Regions from separate parts of the Homo sapiens genome. Here regions 1 and 3 are each linked to region 2. Evidence: promoter capture Hi-C in 16 types of primary human blood cells and fetal thymus (Javierre and others, 2016). All regions are on one chromosome and are shown on one strand. Each heading gives the region's core, a stretch centred on a gene start or on the middle of the fragment in contact. The rest is flanking DNA. Distances are from core to core; before and after follow the strand shown.

What was found. The method cuts DNA at HindIII sites, captures the fragments that hold promoters and counts their contacts. A CHiCAGO score of 5 or more calls a contact.
Region 1: a contact is called between the fragment with the promoter of NUFIP1 here and the fragment with the promoter of SMIM2 in region 2, in 10 of 17 cell types (activated CD4 T cells, M0 macrophages, M2 macrophages and 7 more). The highest score is 9.2, in activated CD4 T cells.
Region 3: a fragment that was not itself captured here is called in contact with the fragment with the promoter of SMIM2 in region 2 in 1 of 17 cell types (M2 macrophages); the score reaches 5.6 in M2 macrophages.

Annotation. Positions count from the first base shown.
Region 1 is chr13:44,987,659-44,990,763 of GRCh38, forward strand. It overlaps NUFIP1 (nuclear FMR1 interacting protein 1), which reads right to left and starts at 1,813. Exons shown (of 10, transcript NM_012345.3): 1 at 1,367-1,813. The coding sequence starts at 1,778. GPALPP1 (GPALPP motifs containing 1) reads left to right here and starts at 1,880. Exons shown (of 8, transcript NM_018559.5): 1 at 1,880-2,084. The coding sequence starts at 1,997. RefSeq lists enhancers at 1,351-1,989, 1,614-1,683, 1,874-2,063, 1,990-2,626. The HindIII fragment of the contact is 7,208 bases long and covers 1-3,105 here.
Region 2 is chr13:44,159,536-44,162,700 of GRCh38, forward strand. It overlaps SMIM2 (small integral membrane protein 2), which reads right to left and starts at 1,722. Exons shown (of 3, transcript NR_197392.1): 1 at 1,610-1,722; 2 at 1,068-1,396. RefSeq lists an enhancer at 1-853. The HindIII fragment of the contact is 6,510 bases long and covers 1-3,165 here.
Region 3 is chr13:44,967,683-44,971,249 of GRCh38, forward strand. All of the region lies in intron 5 of NUFIP1 (nuclear FMR1 interacting protein 1), which reads right to left. Among named protein-coding and RNA genes, the nearest start is that of NUFIP1, 20 kb to the right of the region's middle. The HindIII fragment of the contact is 948 bases long and covers 1,776-2,723 here.

The DNA.
Region 1 (3,105 bases), core at 563-3,062, 830 kb after region 2:
CAGATCTAGAATCCAACTACTTCTCACCATCCCTTGGGCTTCACCCTGGTCCAAGTCTCCAATATCTCTTGTTTAGAAAAGTAACTACAATAGCTTCCTAACCGGTTTCCCTTTCAGTCAGTTCTCACCAACAGACACATTAATCCTCTTAAAACGTAAATCAGGTCATGTCAATCCGCTGTACTACCCACCTCACAACAGTAAAAGTCAAAGTCCCACGATCTACAAAGACATACCAGGTCTTACCCTCCTCCCCCATCTTCTACAATTATACTCCAGACTCAGTCCTCTGTAGCCACACTGGTTCCCATTCTGATGTATAGCTTCTAAGCCTCAAGACCTTTGCACTTGCAGTTCCTTCTGCCCGTACCCCTATTCTCCCAGTTGTATGCATGGCTGTGATCTCTCACCTCCCTAAAGTCTTCGCTCATATGTCACCTTCCTTATGACTAACAATGACATTTAAAACTGCACTACCTGGCCCGGCGTGGTGGCTCATGCCTGTAATCCCAACACTTTGGGAGGCTGAGGCGGGCGGATGCCTGAGCTCAGGAGTTAGAGACAGGCCTGTCCAACACGGGGCAACCCCCTTTCTACTAAAAATATAAAAAATTAGCCGGGTGTGGTGGCGTGGGCCTGTAGTCCCAGCTACTCAGGAGTTTGAGGCATGAGAATTGCTTGAACTCGGGAGGCAGAGGTTGCAGTGAGCCTCTCTGCAGAGACTGCATAGGCTGGAGTGAAGTAGATCGCGCTACTCTTCACTCCAGCCTGGGCGACAGAGCGACACTCTGTCTCCAAAAAAAAAGAAAAAAAGAAAATCCTGCACTACTTACCATTCTTCTTTGTTTTATCTCTCTCCATGCCACTCAACCTTCTAATGCACAATATTTTATTTTGCTTATTGTCTGTCTTCCTACACAAGAGAGATAATATTAAGCTCCATAATATTTTTTGTATGTTCTGCTCACTGCTATATACCCAGATTCTGGTACATAGTCGGAATTCAATAAATAACTGCTAAATGGAATTAACAGTCAACAGGAAAACATTCTAGTCAGACATATTTTGAGAACAAAGGATTTACAATATTATATAAACTTAGTTGATAAAGCAGCCTCGACTTCCTGGGTTCAAGGAATCCTCCTGCCTCAGCCTCCCATGCATCTGCGACCACAGGCATGCCACCATGCCTGGCTAATTTTATTTTTTTTGTAGAGACGGGGGTCTCACTTTGCTTTGAGATGCTAATGACCAGACTCCAAGAGTGCAGAGGCAAGGCAGAGTAGAGAGAGGAAGCAGAGAAAGGGGAGAGGAAAGAACGGGGGAAAAAGGTAAAGGGGTCGACTCACGTGGAAAAATAGCCTACCTGCAGGGTTGAAGGACTTCTGATGCCGAGGAAACCTATCAGAAGACTGTCTCCAATACCACGATGTGGAAGCATGGAAATTCCAAGGCTGGCCGCTGGGTTGAGGCTGAGAATCAAGGGGAGACTGGGCGTCGAAGGGGGGTTGCGCCCCGGGAAGAATCTGGGCGTCGAAGGGGGGCGGAGCCCCGGGGAGAGACTGGGCCTCCATGGGGGGCTGCGACTCAGAGGAAGGCTTTGACCCGGCTGCGGGAAGCGAGGACGTAAGTGGTGGTGGCGGTGGCGGCAGCATTGCCCAGAACATCCAGCTGTCCCGCGGCGGGGCAGTGTCGCTCAGGGGCCCTAACGTGGGAGTCAGCTCGGGAGACGCATGCCACCCGATAGGAGTCTCGAAATCACTAGTCGGCTCAGCCATACCACTGGCGGGTCCGGAGTCTAGCACGCGACTGTGGAGCAAGCATTAGGCGTCACTTCCTTTACCGTGAACTACAAGGCTCAGCCAACCACAGGCTTTACGTCATTTCTCGGCGCCGGGAAACCTGCCATTCTTCGCTGCTGATCGCGGGATTCTTTTTGGATAGGGTTGACGTTCGTGGATAGACTCATATCTGTGACCAGTGTCCGCCACCGCGGATGGCAAGAGACCTGATCGGACCGGCCCTGCCGCCCGGCTTCAAGGCCCGCGGAACAGCGGAGGACGAAGAGCGGGACCCGAGCCCTGGTAAGCGGCGGCGTCTCCGCTGCCCACCAGGCCCATCTACCCACTCCCTGGCCGGGCCCTGCTCGCTGAAGAAAGTCGGAGGCCTAGGAGGGCGGAGGAGTGGGGAGTGGGCGCGGCCTGACCCGAGAGAACTTTTCTCTTCCCAAACAGTAGCAGGGGGGAGGAGGCTGGGGGACCCTCCTAGAAACGAGCTTTGGCGTGGTTTGGCTTCGTGATGATAATACATTCTCATTTAGCCTTAATATGAGCTGCACGCTGCCCTAACTGACTGATACCCACTCAGTCATTTAAGCCGTATAAGAAAAAAACTATTTTCCCATGTTGCAAATGGGTACGCCCAAGCCCATGCCAGTGTCTAGATCATACTGCTAGCAAGTGATGGAGCGCGACTTAGAAGGAAGCGGTTCTCTTAACCTCTGTGCCATATTGCCTTCTGATTACAAGAACCTTGCAGATCCTGTTCTCTCCAGCCCCCGACCTGCCTTCCTAGCCTCTCATTCTGTTATTGCATCTGACAAACACAGCCCAATACTCAATCCAGTCTGAGTTGCTGCGCAATTCCTTAACGCTCTAGGCTTCTGGGCTTCCTCTGGTTGCATTCCTAAACATAACTGACAAACTTCTCCCCATCCTTCAAGGCCCAACTTAAATGTCACACCAATAAAACCTTTCCAGATTCCCCGAAGCATTGTCATGCCTTTCTTTTTGCCCTCGGGTTTTTTCCTAATTACATTGCATATTTAGTACACTGTATTTGAATAATTTGTCGACATAATCTGTCTCCACCATTGCACTATGGTCTTCTACCTGAACACGCAACAGGCACTTGGTATATACGAAACGAATGCTTCTCGGATTCCGGCATGCATACCTATCTGCTTTAATGTTTATTCACATTTGTAGACTAGCACCGACACCCAGTTGGAGAAGAGTAAAGCTGAAAGAGTAACCCTGCCATTTCTGAATCTAATTTTTCTTCCTGGTCTACCCGGAGGCTATGTTTCTACTACAGGCCCCTTTC
Region 2 (3,165 bases), core at 472-2,971:
GCACAAATGTGCTGCTGCGGTTGTTTGTACAATGAAACTCTAGATTGTAGGCAGAAATGTCAGGTTCCTTTCAACTCTCTTCAGAGCTAATCTAGTTCCCATGTGCAAACTCAATCTATAGCATTTGGGTAAAGAATACTCAGTCCTCTGCTGTGACAAGAACAAATTCATCACCCACACCATACATTGTAGCTAAGGGCATCATCGTGCCCACATGAATCACCAGGCAGAGACGGCTGCCAACTCTGAAATTCTTTACTCATGGAAGACTCACGTATACTAATGCCGACTATTTACGCAAGCACATTTCTCCAGGTGGCCTGGAGCAGTTTACAAGATGCTGGCTCATTCCTCATCATGCCACTTGGAAGGAGAGCAAAAGGTGGGGAAAGAGGAAGGGCCAACATCATCATCTGCATTTTATGTGGGGAAACTGAGGCTCACATAAGCCGTAAAGTGAAATGTATAGACATTTATGAGTCAGAAATCGACCATGGAAGAGGCAAAATGAGCTTATCTGAATCATGAGTGGACTATTTCTTGCCCAACAATTTCATGCAGCTCTTCCAACACAACTGTTTTGATACAGCAGCCTCAAAACAAGCCAAAATTCAGACTCGCTGTATTTGGTTTATAACCAGTTTCCCATCTTTCATTCCTTCTCTGACTTCTACCTGACTTCTGAATTTGGTTGACCCTGTTTTTTTGTTTGTTTGTTTGTTTTGTTTTACTTTAAAAGACCCTCAACCCTCCTGGAGTCCTGACCTGCTATTTCTTTCATTTTGAACCTCTACCAGTCCTTTCCTTCATCTGTTACCAATCCATACACCCTTGATGCCTGGAGGTAAGATTGACAATGGAGGGGGGGAGGTGAAGATCAAGGTTGAGGTGAAGCTCACAGATGGCCTGCAAGATGCCTATTTTACTCATCATTTATTTTTTAAAAAGCTGAACATTTATCGGCTGAATCTTTGAGCCATACCAAAATATCCTCATGTCAAAATAGCTGCAGTAAAGTGGTTCTATTAAAATAGCTGCCTCCAAAGAACTGAGAGTGGAGATGTCACCTGCTTCTGGCACCTGACTTTGGTCCTCTTCTGCGTGGCATTGCCTTCTGCTCTGCTGGATTCTGGCGTATGGCTCATCAGAGGAGGCACTAACATCAGGGCTGCCTTTTATCTTGCTGATCCAAGCGAGGACTATGTAGGTGTCACAGATGAAACTCGTCCAGAAGCCGAACAGGATGCTAATGGCATGGCCACGTGTTTCCAGCACCCTGTGAGGCAGCTGGCTGGCATCAATCCTCTCCCCAGCTTCCATCCCACCCCCATCCACCCATAAGCTCTTCTTGGGTCAGAAATGCAATTCTTTGATGGTGCCAGACAGCCAGATGATGCTGGAAAGAAGAAAGAAAAAGAAAAAGCAGGTTTCTAAATTAAGCACAAGGCTCGTTTATAAAAATAAATAGCCACAGCCTAGCAACGTGCTCACAGCTCAGCTTTCCTCCGTAATAAAACCTCTGTGGCTGAAGCCTGGGATGACACAGCCTTCAGAGGGCCCCACGCCCTGGCCCTCCTCATGCCCTGGCCTCTCCCAGGATAATACTCACCTGGAGAGTGCTGACAGTGGTACTTTTGGGGCCCCACTCTTCATTCAAGGCCAACCAAAGGCCAGGCTCCAAAAAGCAGAAGGAAGGCAGAGCTTAATGAGGCCCATGAACACTTACAGACTCTTGGCAGTAACTAATACACCTGTAGCAAAAGTGGTTGAAGTTCCTTGGGCTACTCTGTTGAAATAGGAACTTCTAGTTAAGACCATGTCTTCTTTGTTCACCATTGAACAGTACTCAGCTAAGCACAGGGCACGTATTGAGTACTCAACCAGTATGTGAGGAAAGACTGGTTAGAGGTATAAATGAATGAATGAATGTTGCCATCCCATTATTGATGCTCTCCAAACTCTTCACTACAAATGGAGTCAGTTCCAGAATCCAAAGCCAGCATTCTTCTCCTGATTATGACATGCACCAAAGAGGCATCCCCTGAGCTGGATGTTTAAATCAGAGCCCACAGCTGAAGTGAGCACCAAGATGTACTGAGCAAGTGTGGACTCTTACTGATCCAAGTGGTGAGGCTCTTACAATGGGCAAGGGCAGAGGGCATGCGATATGTAGGTAACTATTGTTAGCATTCCTGAATCTTCTCCTGTTCTTTAGGCAGCAGCAGCTTCAAGGGTGAACTGTTGCTCAGCAGAGAAATGGCAGGAAAAAATAGGACATTCGCTTCTGGCCTTAGTCCTGTTGGAACACAAAAAGTGGAGTCTGCAATGCTGTTGGAGGCTCAACAGGTCAAATACATCAGTAATGGGCATGGTATGGCTGGGGTCATACGGAGACAGTCCTTAGAGCACTGAAAATGTGATCATCCTGAATCCCATAAGGATCCTTATGAGGTTAGAAGGGACAATGTGGCTCCACTTTGATGACTGACAGCAGTTGCTTTGGTGAGTTTCTACGTATTCCCTTGTGATCAGAGAGTGGTACAGGACAGCATGTCAAAATCGTAAACCACCATCTCAGAGCAAGGCCCCTTAGTTACAATATTAAAAAGATCAGAGAAATTGGCACATAGCATCATTTAGAAATCTGTCTTCAGGCATCTTTGTCTGGCCTGGCTGGAAATAGTAAAACCATATTTATGTCATTGAGAAAAAGGTTCTTAATTAAATTCAAATGTATAAGAATATATCGTAGGTCTATTTTTGGAACAATAATCTGGGAACAAAAAAAAATCTAAACAGCAACAAAACTTGTACAATAGCATTTAGCTTCAGACAGCAGCATACAATAGAGAAGAAGGAGTCCTCATAGACTCTGGACTCTTAGATTGATTCAATCCCACAAGCTAGAGCACCAAAGTCATGGCACTGGGACATTTAGGAAGAGGAACTCTAGCAGTGACCTGATTAGGAGACAGCTCCAGCAGAGAGTCAGCACATAGACTGGCCAAGCTGCCCCCAGATCTTTGGTGATATCTCTTTGGTGGAGATAAAGGAAGCCCTTTCCAAAGCAGACCAATTATGGCATCCACAACCATAGTCCCTGCTCCAGCCTAGTGAGGACACAGTATGTTCCATAAGTCCCTAAGGCTCTATGCCCAGGGCTCC
Region 3 (3,567 bases), core at 1,000-3,499, 810 kb after region 2:
ATGAACAGGGAGAGATATGTACAAAGCAGTGATTAAGATGAAATCTGACAGAAGTGTGCCAGATGAACTGCTTTCTTTGTTTCTCTGCACAGCTGTGTGGAGATGCAGACACCAAACTTTCAGGAAGAGGGCAATAGATTCTAGGAGTATAAAAAACATAGAAGGAAGGGAACACAGCTCTCTACTACCCCGTCTGGCTGCTGATCAGAGTAAGTTTGGAGAAACATCAACAAATGTGTTCTGCCATTGCTTCTAGGACACTTCTCTACCTTCTGCCTTTTTTTTTTTAACATTTGCAACACTGACTTGAATAGCACAGACAATATATAAAGCCTATGGGTGGGCCATACTGAAAGACAGGAATGGAAATGACATTGGGTAAGTGGTTAAGTAATCAGAAAAAAAATGTAATGAATTTCAATGAGGACAGTGTGAAGCAATATATATCCAGTCAAGAAAAATAGACTCCATAAAAAAAGATGATTAATGTACAAACTATAAATAAACATAAAAGGAAAAGATCAAGGTCATAGGAGATAAAAATCTGACAGTCAGCAATACATGACTACATTTTTCGAAAGCAAACATAATCTAAGGTTATAAGAAGTAGACTCTGGCACTTGTACGAGTGTGAAATCTTCCTCCAGGATACTCAAAAGCAGTCAGATAATCTCAGGGCACTGTGTCCAGTTCTGTACTTCTAAACTAAAGGAACACTGAGAAGAAAAAAAAAAAAAAAAGACTTGGAAGGGATTCAGAAGAGACTCAAAGATGATTAATAGGATGAAAAATAAAACCTCCAAAGAAAGATGAAAGGAACTATTTGCAACCTTTAAAAGAAGATGAGAAGCGACAATAAAAATAGTTTTACAGAGAGGATGGTCCAGTTGTTCTCAAACTGAAGAGAATATGCAGAAGTAGAAATGAGAAAAACAGTAATGATTTTTACAGGCCTCACAGTGGCGAGACATGTAACTCACAGCTACTCAACACCCTCCACAATTCTCAAATTTACTTATTACTTAAGTTTCTTCAACATTTTTGCAGAGTATTGCAGACTCTTACCATGTTGGGCTATATGTTACATGATAAAATTTGGCACTACAGTGTACTACGTACCAGAGAGCAGATGCTAGGTAACTGCTTTTCATTGGTAAAGAATTTAAACTTGTTATAGCAAGTGGATTTTAGGTAAGATATAAGAAAGAGTTCCCTAAGTGAAACATCAAAGATGTGATGTGTAGAAACTCCTTTGATGGAAGCCTTTTAAAACAGCTAATTTTCTCTTTCAGGCAGACTGCAGTATCATGTTCCTAAAGGTAAAGAAACTTAACTTCCTAAAATTAAATATCATGTTCCTAAAGGTAAGGAAACTTGTCTTCCTAAAATTAAGTATCATGTTCCTAAAAGTAAGATTAGAGTTTTAAAAAGTTGTAAGATTTTATTTTTCTTGGTGCTGAAATCAATAAAATCCTCTTCCAAAATTTATTACATTCTTATTTACACAGAATCCAGATATTTAAAACTAGAGAGAAAAATGGTTGCTAAAAAGCACATTATCGCAAAAAAGAAAAATCAGAAACACAAGACCTAATTACACACATAAACAACAGTAGGAAGCCCCACTCCACCAACATGAAGCTGAGATAAATGAATAACGAAAAAAAAGGAGTTCTGATGAAGGAGTTCAGGTTCCTAAAGTACAAGAAATAACAAATCCAAAGACTATTGAAAAAACATAAATTATGTCTTACATTGCAGTTACATACATGTAAAGCTTAGTCCAATATCTCCTGTTAGAGAATGGATAATATGAAGTTATAAAGACCGTGACAAGGGAAATTTTCACAGTTGGTTTTTCTATATTTTTATCTACTAAAATCATTTTCTCCCTGTACTTCTATCTTTCCTCAGTTCACTAAGAGGAAATGGTCCTGAAACTATGCTCTTTTCCTTCCTCTCTTCTTTCATTTTTTACCTCTTCTTCACCTTCCTCATTGCCTATACCTTATGCCTCCAGTGACAATCTTTAAGCACTACAGAGCCAACACATGGGCAAACCGTCCTAACCATTATCTTAGCACAGACCATTCTGGTCACATTATTCTCTCCAATTTTTTCCTTATGCTCAAATCACGACCCATTTATTGGCTTTTCCCCTCTGCCTGTTCTATAAAACATAGTTACTCTTCCCACTCTCATTAAACCACAACTGCTTCCACACAAGCTACACTATTGTACTTTTCTTTCTGAACATCAAAAAGATACAGCATTCTTTAGAGCAGATCTCCTGTGTTGGAATTCTGCATGAACCAGGGAAACAAAAGGATTTCCTCAGAGCCACAGTAAGCGTTGAAATAAATTGTAAAACTACTCCACCTAGTGGACTCCCAGTCTGCTGTGAAAAATGTTCCACTGTTTCTATAATAAAAGCAAGGTTTTGGAAACAAACCTCTACCACTCATTTTCCCTAAAGCCAAATCATACAGCATTGGTACTACATAGGACAGGAATTAAGAAAGAATAACTTTTTTTGGTGGCTTTTTTGGGGAGGTAGGGGAAAGGCTATTAATGGAAAGCCTTAAAAGTTATTAAATTAAATACACTCGGTACCCCTGAGTCTGACTAACCTGAAAAATACAGAGATGTAGAAGTAAGGACAAAGATGTACTTTTGTCAAAGATAAGGAAGCCATATGCCAAGCAAACCTTCAGTTTTCTTTAAGCTTTAAAATTCTTACTCTGTGAAATCTTTCACAAGCTTTTCCTAACAGAGCAACTACATAAAGACCTTATTTTTCCTGCATGTCAAAGAATATAGTGGCTTCATCGGAAAGAATGTAGCTCTCACACAAAGATCAAATTCATGAAATAAGGACTATTCTGCCACACCAATGTGGAACTTACTCTTTTTAGGAGTTCAAGTAATATTTTTTAAAAATTGAGAATGACAGGAATGTAGAAAGTAAGTATATTTTTGTAACAGGGTTTTTTTGTTTGTTGTTTTTTTATTGAGACAGTCTCACTCTGTTGCCCAGGCTGGAGTACAGTGGCACGACCTTGGCTCACTGCAGTCTCTGCCTTCTGGGTTCAAGCAATTCTCCTGCCTCAGCCTCCCAAGTATCTGGGATTACAGGTGCGTGCCACGATGCCCAGCTAATTTTTTTTATTTTTAGTAGAGATAGGGTTTCGCCATGTTGGCCAGGCTGGTCTCAAACTCCTGACCCCAAGTGATCTGCCTGCCTTGGCCTCCCAAAGGGCTGGGATTACAGGTGTGAGCCACCACGCCCGGCCCATAATAGGTTTTTAAAAAATTGCTAGTGGGGATAGTATTTATGCATTTTTGAGAAATCTATCAAACATACCAAAAGAAAAGCAGTATTTCCCATATCCTCTAATAAAATATACATACAGAAAAAATATATATGAACTCTTCAGAATATATTAAAGAGCAAGAACCTGAGAAACAAACTATGGAAGAACCTCAGATGAACTCACCCAGTGCCCAAAGAATTTTCAGAGCACTTACTAAACAAAGCAACATCACAGGTATAAATAAACTTCATCC